Regions from separate parts of the Homo sapiens genome. Here regions 2 and 3 are each linked to region 1. Evidence: promoter capture Hi-C in 16 types of primary human blood cells and fetal thymus (Javierre and others, 2016). All regions are on one chromosome and are shown on one strand. Each heading gives the region's core, a stretch centred on a gene start or on the middle of the fragment in contact. The rest is flanking DNA. Distances are from core to core; before and after follow the strand shown.

Region 1 (4,298 bases), core at 1,057-3,556:
AGGCAGGTACAATGTCTGTTCTTGTTCACCAATGAAGCCCTACTGTCTAACACATAGACTAGTTTATAATAGGCACTCAGTAAATATTAGTGAAAGAAATGTGTCACCTTCGCGCGGTGGCTCATGCCTGTAATCCCAGCACTTTGGGAGGCCGAGGTGGGCGGATCAACTCAGGTCAGGGATTCCAGACCAGGCTGGCCCATATAAGAAGCAGCTAACACCCCTAGGGCTGAGGGCTGAGATGGAGCACGCAAGTATTCTCTTCCCCACCAGGGCTGAGATCCAGACCTGCATCCAGGTTGGGAGGGTAGAAAAAAAGTGCTCCAGCGGAAGGTGCAGGTCATGTGCCATCTAGAGTACCAAAGAAAAATGTTCATGGGGAAGTCTGTTACCAGAGATGCTCTAAAGGAGGTTCCCCCAAAGTACTGCTGGCCACCATGCACTGCAGGAGGTTCCTACTAGGTAAACTGCTCAGGCTGTGGGAGCCAGGCCACTGTGCACAGTAACGCCAAGAGATTATTTCCTCCAGCAATGTCTCTCCATCGCCCTCTATTGACAAAATTTAATATTGAGCTAAACTGCGACAGAAAATATTTAAAGGGCCCAGCTCCGTTCCATTGTTATGGAGCAAGGAAAAGTGATTTTGCTGCTGAGAGGTAATAAATAGATAACCGGACAGAAGAGAAAATGCTGACTTTCTTTGGACTGGTTCGAATTCAAACACACTTTTATATCCTTGTCCAAGTGCACAATCCATGGTGAAAGTTTAAGAGCTGTCAAAAAGTTTGTTTTGGCCGGGCGCGGAGGCTCACGCCTGTAATCCCAGCACTGTGGGAGGCCGAAGCGGGTGGGTTACCTGAGGTCAGGAGTTCGAGACAAGCCTGGCCAACATGGCGAAACCCCATCTCTACTAAAAATACAAAAATTAGCGGAGCGTGGTGGTAATCCCACCTACTCGGGAGGCTGAGGGAGGAGAATCGCTTGAACCCGGGAGGCGGGGGTTGCAGTGAGCCGAGATCGTGCCACTGCACTCCAGCCTGGCAACAACAGCGAAACTCTGTCTCAAAAAAAAAAAAAAAAAAAAGTGTTTCCTCTCTGTGCTTCAGCAAAAAAAGAGCAAATCCAATTCCCCGAAGGGCTCAAAGCGAAGCGCTCTTCCTTAGAAATCCCCGAGGAAACCCCCTCCACGAAAAACCCGCAAGTGCTGCTCTCTGGATTCCAAGAAAGCCTGTCTCACCTGCGAGGTGCAGGCGGGTGGAGTTCTGGGACTCCGGTGCCTATTGGGATTGACACCACCGGGGTCACTCAGACGGAGATCAGAAAAGGAGGATGAGGGTGAGGGTTCGGCGTGGGGTAGAGAAAGGTGTGACGCGGGATTCAGCGCCACGTCGCTGGGTGACGGAAGGAGTACAGAAGTTGAGGGTTCACGTGCTCGGCAAAAAGCAAAGATTCTATTGGTTCAAATGAAAATACTCAAAAACAGAATTAGCGATAGAAAAAAAAGCGACTCTCTTTGTTTCCGCCCGGTTTCGAACCGGGGACCTTTCGCGTGTTAGGCGAACGTGATAACCACTACACTACGGAAACCAACGGTTACAAAGCTTCTTCTTTTTGACCTAAAAGACTAGTCCTGAATTCTCCCCCTTTCCCTCCACCCCCACCTCCGATTTTTTTTTGATTATGGTGAATTACACACTTTCACATTTACTATTTATAATATAAAAACTCGATGTCCTAATTTAAGTTGAGGAACATTTGATAAATAATCGGTTTGTACTTTTTTGTATAATAAACTATATTTCCCAGTAGTTACTTATACAAAGAGGCATAGAATTAATTTGGGAAAGGTAATTTGTTAAGATTTATGCATCTATGAATCTATGAACTAATTTTTAAACCTATTTCTAGTATTTAGATGTTCTTCCCATTGTTTTATACTTTAAAAAATACTGATTAGTTTTCAAATTTATAGATATAAATGTTTTAATGTTATATAATGTTTATATAACATTATATATAATGTTATATAATGTTTATAAGATATAAACATTTTAATGTTTAGTTGTAACCAACTAGTAGCTTCAATGATAACTCAATTCGAAGGAATTCTATAAAAAGTAGAACATTATGCTTCCCATAACAAAAATAATAAATAACTGGCTAATGACTTCACCTGACTGTAGCGTAGTCTTTGGTGCTCTAATTAGAAGAGAAGCTCTTTTCTTTCTAGAAATACTTGCCGACCTCCTTGTGGAAAACCCTCCCTTTCCGCTGTCTGCATTCGGATGAGAACCAGATCACCAGGGAGATGCAGACCAGGGGGACACTTCCTCCTGTTAACACTAGCGGAGCTGGTGGAACCCAGCCGACCATGCAGGAGGGAGGAGCTGGCAACGCCCTGAACGGTGGGAGGGGAAAGCATGCGGGGTGTCAGCGTCTCTAGGGTTTGGATAAGCCGATTTCAAGTCCAGGACAGGAGAGAAAACAAAAGAGTTCTGTTCAAATAATAATAATAATAAATCTTACTGAGTTTCAAACCAAGGGTCTTTACTGTATTGGGCAAATGTGATAACCACAATACCAGTAAAACTTGCCTTTGGTCCCATGTCTCTTCTACAGGAAAAAAAAAATACAGTTTTTCCAGATGCCCCAGGTTCTATAATCTCAAAGCTGCCCTTTCTTCCCAGAAACTCTCACAGTGGTGGTACGTTTCTTGCCCTTGTACTTTTAGTGTACTAAAACCAACAGCCAAACTTTATCATTTTAGCAATCCAAGTATTCACCCATGAGCCCCAATTTCTTTGCAAATGCCAGGCAAGAAAACCTCAAGTAGATAGAGAAGTAGAGAGCAGATGATTTGATTTTTTTAAAAAAATTCTACCATAGTGTCCTTATCTTATCCATGCAACTTGTTCTGATCTTCATCTTTCTAGTGCCAGAAAATGACCCTTTTAGGAACCCGGACCTGTAAGACTGAGCTCTTGGGACTATTAGCATTTGTTACAGAGCAGGTAAGCTTCAGGATGAGATATACTGGGGAACAGGTACAAGGTTACAAGATTGGATTCTATGTCACAAATAATTATTTCTCTGGAATGTGACAGTTCAATGCTATTTGATTTAGAAAAGGAGGATAAAACGCTCGTGTATTTTTTTCTTTTCTTTGTTCTTCTCTCCCTTTTCACTGTCTTCCTCTATCTACTTTCACTGCACACCTAGAAGCAAGCTGCCTTCTTCCAGATTCCTCCTTATAACTTCACTTTGCATATAAACACCACACACTCTCTGTGCTTAGAGGTGGTGGTTGGGCTGCCAGACCAGTCTGGAGAAAGTCTGTGCTTACTTTTTCCTCTACTTAGTATTCTTTCTTCCATGGGTGCCAGGAACAGAGAGCCCCTTCTCACCTTGAGATCATGTGAGCTGGTAGTAGCTGGATCATGAATAATTGGAATGCTGTGGGTAACAACTGAAAGAAAGACTGTAATTCCCAATTAACAAATTAGACTGTATTTCCCAATTAACAAATCAAGACCAGATTAGCAGCAACAATGATCATTAAAAATATTGTTAAAGAAAAAAAGAAAGAAAAAAGATAAAAAATATTGTTAAACTGGACATAGTGGTGTACCTGTAGTTCTAGTTACTCTGGAGACGAAGTAAATCAGGAAGATCACTTGAGCCCAGGAGTTTGAGGTTGCATGTGCAATGATTGTGTCTGTGAAAAGCCACTGCCCTCCAGCCTGGGCAATATAGGGAGACTCCATCTCTAATTTAAAAAAAATTGTTGTAAACACATTTATTTCATATTAATTAAAATAAATTATTGGCTGGGCACAGTGGCTCATGCCTGTAATTCTAGCACTTTGGGAGGCTTAGGCGGGATGATCACTTGAGCCATGAGTTCGAGACAGCCTGGGCAACATTGCGAGATCCCCATTTCAAATTTTTTTAAAAAGAAAAATAAATTATTGAGCTACAAACAATGTGCCAGACAATTGTGACCCTATGTTGTCACTAGGAGTACCAGAGGCATGCAGGACAAGATTACACAATCCTAACTCTCAAGGAGAAGAAAGAGGAACATGAGCAGCCAATATGCCATAAGCAAAAAGTGGAGCAACAGACGTACAGATTGCGAAGCATTTGGATGGTAGTATAGAGAGGAGGCATCTTCTTAGTCCTTATGAACTGGCAGGGCAGATCTGGCAGGGATCTTTGGAGCCAAAATATCTGAGTACAATTCCTTCCTCTGCCACTTTCTCATCATATGTAGGGTTTCAGGCAAGCTATTTGGCTTC
Region 2 (4,298 bases), core at 648-3,147, 1.5 Mb before region 1:
AGAATTGATGTAACTTAAATGCAAGTTTCTCCATGTCACACCTCATTAACATGCTTCCAACAGCATAAGGTTAATTCTCAGTTTCTCAATTTGCAAGAGGAGGCCCTCCTCAATCAGGCAACTGCCAGGCATGCATCTTTGGTCATATATGTATTCCCAGTCTCCATGGCATCAAACTACTTATTGCCCCTTGTGTCTTCACACTAGTGGAGACCTACCCTCTCCCAACAGTACCTGAACTGCCCTGTTCCCATGTCCCTCCCCTCTGGCTAACAGCTGATCATGATGAGTGAGAGCAAGAGGAATAAATGTGCCTGCATATGACAAGTGTCATGCGGCTCAGTGTCCTGCTACTTGCATCCTCTCTCTGCAGACAGGTCTTTTACACTTACCTGTTCAGAGACCTCTCCCGTGATGGCACCAGAGTTTGTAACAGTTTATTATGTTAATTTTTCCCAAATTTTTATTATAAAAATATTCAGAATAAAACATAACAAAAGATGGGTTTATCAGTCATCCACTACCTACATTCAATAGAGTGGATTTTACCACCATCCGAAAGTAAATGACAGACTCATGAGAATTTACACCTACACACTTCAGCATCTAACCCCTAACAATAAGGGAAATTCCATGTAATCTCAATATATCAAACCTTTCTTTAAAAACTTACTAAAATGACCTGTTATCCAGTTCACGTTCAAGTTTCCTTGATTATCTCCAAAATGCCCTTTAAAACTTTAGAGACAGAATGCAATTAATACATTTAGTTGCTATGTTACTTTAATCTCCTTCAAACTTAAAGTCCTCCAGTTTTTCTCGGTGGCTTTTTGAACAAAGCAATTGTCCCAAATGTTCCACATTCTGGAAGGTTTTTTCCCCCTCTTGAGATGTTTAATTGGCTCTTTGACCCCTGTACTTTCATAAACAGTAAATTGAGACACGAATTATTGCAGTTACACCTTATCAAGGTGTTTCTATATTTACGATGGATCACAAGCAAAGGCACGAAACAGGTAAACTTCTTTTAGTGCTGCTAAATTAGATCATTGAACTAGCAAGGGGGCCAGTCCCTCCACTGCAGACACATTTGTCAGAACGGCACCTGGCAAGTTTGTGCTAATTATTGTGTATTCTCTGGTTATTGAAATTGCTTATTAAGCAGAATATAAAAGTCGGGTTATCTTGGCACTAAAACTACAATTTTAATTACGGAGGGTAATCCTAACAGTAAGGAGAAAAACACACTACCATAACCACATTTTGAGAGCTTTTAAGTGACAATGTAGCCGTTGATGTCCTCAGCCAGCCCACCAGATTTCTAATCTCTGAACACACGATTAACTTACCACCTGTATTCCATGTTGTATGTCAGCCTTGGCGTAAATTTATACTTTACAGCATTATACACCTAACAGCTTTTGGGCACCTACAGCAATAAAACACACAATATTGCTGAGTGCGTTAGTTAAGTTTCCACAATGTCAAACGTGAGCCCTTCGGAAGAAAACGTACGCGGCCCTGAAAAGGGCCATTAACGATATTGCAAGGAAAGGCCTGGCCTCACTTAACCGCCAAAGCCTTACAGGGTTCTTCCCTGGCGTTTGAGCACGTAGACCACGGCCATGGCGGTGACCGTCTTGCGCTTGGCGTGCTCCGTGTTGGTCACGGCGTACCAGATCACATTTTCCAGGAACACCTTGAACACCCGGCGGGTCTCCTCATAAATGAGGCCCAAGATGCGCTTGACACCGCCATGCCGGGCCAAGCGCCGGATAGTGCACTTGGTAATGCCCTGAATATTATCGCTCAGTACCTTGCGATGGCACTTGGCACCGCCTTTCCCAAGGCCTTTTCCGGCCTTGCCCCGAACAGACATGATAAACAAGTCAGAACTATCTCTAAACAAAACGATTACTCGCTTTCCGCAGCCTTTTATATAACGGTAGAGTAGACCTTTTTGAAAACTGAAAGACCAGGAAAGGCGGGAAAACGTATTCAGTCCCCGCTCATCTACTTCTAGTAATAACAAGACATAAGAAATTCTCTTGTAGTAGGGAGATTTGCTGGCATTTAGAGAATAAGGATCTCTAAACGAAAGTGTCAAACATGTACCTAGAGGAAAGTATCTCGATTTTTGATGTCTGTATGTGTTTAAAGATTTACTCCTGGCCGGGCGCGGTGGCTCACGCCTGTAATCCCAGCACTTTTGGAGGCCGAGGCGGGCGGATCACGAGCTCAGGAGATCGAGACCATCCTGGCTAACACGGTGAAACCCTGTCTCTAATAAAAATACAAAAAATTAGCAGGGCGAGGTGGCGGGCGCCTGTAGTCCCAGCTATGCAGGAGGCTGAGGCAGAAGAATGGCATGAACCCCGTGGGGTGGAGCCTGCAGTGAGCCGAGATCACGTCACTGCACTCTAGCCTGGGCAAGGGCGAAGCCCGTCTCAAAAAAGAAAAAAAAAAGATTTACTCCTTCCCTGTATATTAGAGCATTTACCATGCTGAAGTTGAAACAAGCCCAAATTCCAAGACATAAAAGAATTCCTAATCATATTGCCAAGCCGCCCAGCTAAAGAGAAGTAGCCTGGTTTTTGGTTTCGAATCTGTGAGTGACTGCTCTCTCACCGATATTAGACATGTTAATCTGAGTTTCAATGGCCCTATCTGTAAAAAGGGTAAATACTTGTTAATAATTGAGTTACTTTAAGCAAAACACTGGCATATAGTTAGTAAATGATTTTTTTTTAAAATACGGAGTTTCGCTCTTGTTGCCCAGGCTGGAGTGCAATGGCGCAATCTCTGCCCACTGCAACCTCCACCTTCTGGGTTCAAGCTATTCTCCTACCTCGGCCTCCCAAGTAGCTGGAATTACAGGTATGTGCCACCACTCCCGGCTCATTTTTGTATTTTAGTAGAGACCAGATTTCACGTTGGCCAGGCTGGTCTCCAACTCCTGCCCTCAGGTGATCCGCCCGCCTTGGCCTCCCAAAGTGCTGGGATTACAGGCGTGAGCCACCTCACCGGCCAGTTGGTAAACGAATTCTTATTGCCACAGCCTTTTTTTACAGACAAAATAATAATGCAGAGGTAAAGCACACCGAAGGATTTTAAAACATTGCCTTTGCAACACCAATACATTCAGTGTGCTTTCACTTATATTAAGCACTATACAATTAAGCAATGAAGAATTGCCCAGAAAAAAGATAATGTAAATTGCCAGAGGCTCCATGCCCTGTTCTCATGTGGAGGACAGAAGGTACAGGGGGTGACTGTCTTCTGGGGTTGATACAACAGGAAACTCAGGGAAAGCTGTCATAAATGTTAATAGGAGAAAAGGGGAATTTGCTCACAAGCCAAAATAAAGACATAAGCACCACTAAATTTTTACATTACAAAATACTTGCTGAGCTAGTTAAACGAGAGCATTTAAGTGGAAATAAATGATGTCTCTAAAATAGAATGTTCAAAATAACAATGGATTTTTTATTGTGCAGTTACGATGCACCAAACAAACAGTCCTAAAGATCATGGGTTTTTGAAGCAGGGTCAGCAATATCTAAAAAATCATGTAACTGCATAAATGAATTATGGCCTAATGAGCAGGTCACCACAACAAAAAGCCAAGAGTGCAAACAACTATTTGTGGGGAAAACAAACAAACAAACTTGATAAACCATGGAATTCCAAGCAATAAAAGCAGCAATCCCATCACAGCCTATTTCTACATTATTTTGAAATAATTAGATTTTTTTTTTTTTTTTTTTTTTTTTTTTTTGAGGCGGGGTCTCACTCTGTAGCCCAGGCTGGAGTGCAGTGGCACGATCCCGGCTCACTGCAACCTCCACCTCCCAGGTTCAAGTGATTCTTCTGCCTCAGCCTCCCTAGTCGCTGGGATTACAGTTGCCTGCTACCACGTCCGGCTAATTTTTTGTATTTATAGTAGACAGGGTTTCTCCATGTTGGCCAGGCTGATTAAATTACTAGAATAACAAGAAATTGCGCTGGGCACGGTGGATTACGCCTGTAATCCTAGCACTTTGGGAGGCCAAGGAGTCACATCACCTGAGGTCAGGAGTTCCAGACCAATCATAGCCAACATGGTGAAACCCCCGTCTCTACTAAAGCTACAAAATTAGCCGGGCGTGGTGGCACACGCCTGTGATCCCAGCTACTCGGGAGGCTGAGGCAGGAGAATCGCTTGAACCCGGGAGGCGGAGGTCCCAGTGAGCCGGGATCCCGCATTGCGCCACTGCACTCCATCCTGGCTGACAAGAGCGAAACTCCGCCTAAAAAAA
Region 3 (4,298 bases), core at 542-3,041, 1.2 Mb before region 1:
ATATGAGACGTTTGTTTGCTTTCAAAGTGAAAAAGTGAACATTCATATGAGTGTCCGGGTTGATGATGCTCCTTATAAAGCTGTCAAATTCTGAGATCAAGGCCCTGCAGTAGAAGCAGCATGCAGTGAGGAGGCCTAGCACAGTTTCGCTTAGTAAAATATTTGAAGAAAAAAAAAAAAAGACCCACAGAGAGACAAATGAAAACTCAGACCACGTCACCGTACAACGGCTTCCAGTTTCCTACAGAATACCAGCCAGAGTCCTTACAAGAGCCTGTAAAGCTGGCCAGAGTCCTTACAAGGGCCTATAAAGCTGGAGGTGGTCTCCCAGGATCTCCTATTCCTCTCCACTGAGCACCGGCCTCCTCAACATAACTCCCAAGCCTGCTTCCACCTCCAGGCCTTTTCCCTAGCGATTTTTCCCTGTTCCAGATCACTCATTTCCCCGATATCAGCATTTATCCCTCATTCATCACTTTCACTGCTGGCCTTTCCTATCCTCTTTCCCTGTTTTATTATTATTTTTCTCCAATCGCTTATCACTATTATTTTGTTTATTTAATGCTTTATTATCCGCTTCCGCCACTGCCATGTAATCTTGAGGGCAAGGGTCTCTCATGTTTTCTTCACCGTTATCTGCAGTGCCTTGAACACTAATACTGGTTGAATGAACGAACGCATTAATGGAGCGGTGATATTGGGGCAGAGAGGATGCAGGGCTTGCTTTTCACCGCCATTTTTCAGCCGGCAGAGACAGACCGAGAAAGGAATGAAGGCCACGGGGCGTGTGCAGAAGTAGCTACCAGAGAGTCCATGCGCTGCGAGCCTGGACCAGCGGGCAAACGCGGCTTACAGGCGTTCACCCAGATATTACGGGTACAACCTAGTTTCTTATGAAATACCTCGCCCCTAAGGTACGCGCAGGGCCAGTGGCGCAATGGATAACGCGTCTGACTACGGATCAGAAGATTCCAGGTTCGACTCCTGGCTGGCTCGGTGTAAGCAGGGTCGTTTTACAACTTTCTGACTCCGCAGGAGTAAGGAAATTCCTGCAAGATAAATTTGCCTGGAAGACTCAGAAGCAAGAGGGGCAGCTCCCGACAACATATGGGGTTATCATTTCTTTGCGGAGCATTCTGCCACTGACCACGTGGTAACGCCAACTACGCCAGAGAAACGCTCGCCCTACCCAAGTTGTGCCCAGCCTTGCCTGGCCATTTTGGCCGAAGAACGAAGGACCGTTCAGAGATTAAATTAAAGTCTCTATTGTGTTCTTCCCTATTCAGTCATTTGTAGAATAAATTCTATGGCTTCAGTTTGAACACTGGAGGGGCTGGGTCTGAGCTTTTCATTGGTTTTTCTGGTTTGAGAGGTCGGTACAGAGACGCACGCGCACATCAGCAAAACACGCACTTGGAACGAAGAAACACGGAACTAGGCAGGAAGAACTATTTACTCTGAAAAATAAGCCCTTAGTGGGTTTCCGTAGTGTAGTGGTTATCACGTTCGCCTCACACGCGAAAGGTCCCCGGTTCGAAACCGGGCGGAAACACGTTTTTTTTTCCTCATCTTACTACGAAATTCTTCCAGTGTGTATCTTTTAAAGACTTTTTCAGGCTGTCATAAATTTCCTGTCTTCTTGTCTTGCTAGATCGGGGCAGCAGTGCTTAGGGCGGGCCTCAGAGGCTCACACACGTATCGCCAGGGGGAGAACCAGCTCTCTCCGGCTTGGACTCGGGGCGGCTCCCCGCCTGCAGCCCCGGAAGCGCATCCTCACCTTCCCTCGCCTTCCTGTTCCTGGCGGAGCCGGGCTCCGCTCGTCTTCTCTGTCTTAGGGCTGGTGCTGGCCCTGCCCACGCCTAGGGCTCCGGCGCGTCACGGGCCTCAGCTGGGATTCCCGCGCCCCTCGGACGGCCACGAGACTCGGGTAAGTGCCTCACAGACTTTGTGCGCTACCCCGGAAAATGAGGGGCGTGGTGGGGGGGGTCCCGCCGCCCTCCGTATACTTAGGACCCTCCTGCCAGCTGGCCCCGGTCATGATTAGGGGCCTTGGGCCCCGTCAGCCCCGCCTGTCTTCCCGTCTCCAGAGTAATCGCAGCATCTCTCCTGAGCTCCGAGTGTGAATCCCTGGGAAAAGCTGAATCCAGAGGTGGGGTCACAGAGAGCCGCAGGCCCGACCGGGATGAGAAGTCCTAATCGGCGTTCTAGGGGCGTTCTAAAAGAAGGAAGGAAGGGGATTTGAAAGGATTGCTCCCGCAGGGCTGTGGCCTTAAAGAGGTGGTGACTGGCAGGTTGGACTGACCTGCCGTGGGCTCTCCCTTCCTCCCCAATTTACCTTCGAGAAACCCTCGTTGAGGAGACACCCAAGGGCTGAGTCCTCCTCCACTTTGACCTTTTGCTATTCCATCACAAAGAAAAAATGGATCCCAAAGTTAAGAAATGGACCAGCACTTGTTTAGAATCAGGACTGGTGCCTTGGTGTTTGGCCTCTTACCTCTGCCACATGGCTTGCTTACAAGTTAATCGGATTAATCAAACGCTTTTATGAGAAAGTTTTGTTGTGTCACCTGGCAGCCTCGGGTGTTCCCTAAGAGGGATTTCTTTCTTAGATGTATTACTACTTTTTCTAGGGATTAGCCAAGCCTAGCCTCTCAGATCATATTGCTCCAGGTTCCCTCAAATGACTAATAAGAATGTGATGTGTTTGTTTTTGTTTGTTTGTTTTTGAGACGGAGTCTCACTCTGTTGTCCAGGCTGGGGTGCAATGGTGCGATCTCGCTCACTGCAACCTCCACCTCGATTCTTGTGCCTCAGGCTCCCGAGCAGCTGGGACTACAGGTGTGTAACACTACACCCGGATAATTTTTGTATTTTTAGTTGGAGACGGAGTTTCACCATATTGGCCAGGCTGGTCTCAAACTCCTGACCTCAAGTGATCCGCCCGCCTCGGCCTCCCAAAGTGCTGAGATTACAGGCATGAGCCACCGCGCCCAACCGAATGTGATATTTTTATGACCATGAGAAAAGAAGGGCTGCATTCTTTGGTGGGTCCGCAAAATTAAAAAAAAAAAAAAAAAAAGAAAAGAAAAGAAAGAAAAGGACAATGTTAATGAGCTGTTTTCTTTTTATCATTTTCTTAAACAGGCTGCTTGGGTAGACGTTGACTTGAAAGGTCCATTCTTTTGTCATCTTGCTGGTTCCCTTAACAAGACAACACCTTGGCTAGCAAGATAATATCTTGGTTAGCAAGACAATAAACTTGGGCATGTGCTCAACAGCAACCTGTCTAATACATTTTCATTTAAAATCCCCTCTGTACTACTCAGAAATATAAGCAAGTTATTATGGTGCCCAGAAAGGGGGCAAAGGTTCCAGGGTCCTAGGAGATGACAAGGATTTATCCTCTTCATCTTTCTCCGATCCCAGTTAGCAGGAATACTTTAGCCTGGAAGGTGAGTGTGCCCCTAACCAACCTTTACAGATGGGTGACTGTTTGGGAGCTTATGGCTCACTCCTTCTCTTTAAAGCAGATGCATTCTGGCAAGCTGCAGCAGCAAACCTACCCTTTTAGACACCCTGCGTTTTCTCATCTTTCCTTTCTACCCCTGCATCTCCCAGTCTCTCTCACTTAACCTCCGTGGAAACTCATGCTGCGTCTCTAATACTTTGGAAGATGAAGAACAAACGCCCTGGAGAGTGACTGACACCATGTGACCTCTTGCTTCTGTAGCACACTGCATCTTGCCTGTGAATCTTTTTTTTTTTTTCTTTTTTTTTTGAGACCGGGTCTTGCTCTGTCACCCAGGCTGGAGTGCAGTGGCACAATCTTGGCTCACTGCAACCTCCGCCTCCCAGGCTCAAGTGATTCTCCTGCCTCAGCTTCCCAAGTAGTTGGGACTATAGGCATATGCCACCACACCCAGCTAATTTTTGTATTTTTAGTAGAAATGGGTTTCACCATGTTGGCCAGGCTGGTCTTGAACTCCTGACCTCAAGTGATCCACCTGCCTCCACCTCCCAAAGTGCTGGGATTACAGGCGTGAGCCACCACGCCCAGCATTTGCCTGTGCATTTTTTATTGTATTTTAATTATATCCTTTATTCTCTCCTTCCTAAGCTTGGTGTTCTTAACTTTCTTCCAGATCTTCCCTCCAACCCCCAAACACGATCTCTCCTTAAGTAAGAGGCAGGGAGGGAGAGGGGAACCTTCTGATTTCGGGGTGGGATTGAGGCTAAAACCCAAGTTAGAACTACCTCCCAGAAACCCAGTTCCGTATCCATCGAGTGATCAAAAAGAT

What was found. Contacts are between HindIII fragments. The CHiCAGO score rates a contact against its expected background, and 5 or more counts as called.
Region 2: the fragment with the promoter of H4C7 here is called in contact with a fragment that was not itself captured in region 1 in 5 of 17 cell types (monocytes, fetal thymus, activated CD4 T cells and 2 more); the score reaches 9.9 in monocytes.
Region 3: a contact is called between the fragment with the promoter of HMGN4 here and a fragment that was not itself captured in region 1, in 3 of 17 cell types (fetal thymus, monocytes and M1 macrophages). The highest score is 7.6, in fetal thymus.

The regions. Positions count from the first base shown.
Region 1 is chr6:27,751,886-27,756,183 of GRCh38, forward strand. TRV-AAC1-5 (tRNA-Val (anticodon AAC) 1-5) reads right to left here and starts at 1,587; the gene lies at 1,515-1,587. RefSeq lists enhancers at 781-840, 1,011-1,100 and a silencer at 1,551-1,690. The HindIII fragment of the contact is 1,415 bases long and covers 1,600-3,014 here.
Region 2 is chr6:26,245,099-26,249,396 of GRCh38, forward strand. It overlaps H4C7 (H4 clustered histone 7), which reads right to left and starts at 1,898. Exons shown (of 1, transcript NM_003547.3): 1 at 1,513-1,898. The coding sequence starts at 1,879. The coding sequence ends at 1,583. The HindIII fragment of the contact is 5,476 bases long and covers 1-4,298 here.
Region 3 is chr6:26,536,575-26,540,872 of GRCh38, forward strand. HMGN4 (high mobility group nucleosomal binding domain 4) reads left to right here and starts at 1,792. Exons shown (of 2, transcript NM_006353.3): 1 at 1,792-1,927. It overlaps TRR-ACG1-2 (tRNA-Arg (anticodon ACG) 1-2), which reads left to right and starts at 924; the gene lies at 924-996. TRV-CAC1-6 (tRNA-Val (anticodon CAC) 1-6) reads left to right here and starts at 1,480; the gene lies at 1,480-1,552. RefSeq lists enhancers at 78-742, 2,003-2,412 and silencers at 776-1,069, 1,463-1,512. The HindIII fragment of the contact is 7,010 bases long and covers 1-4,115 here.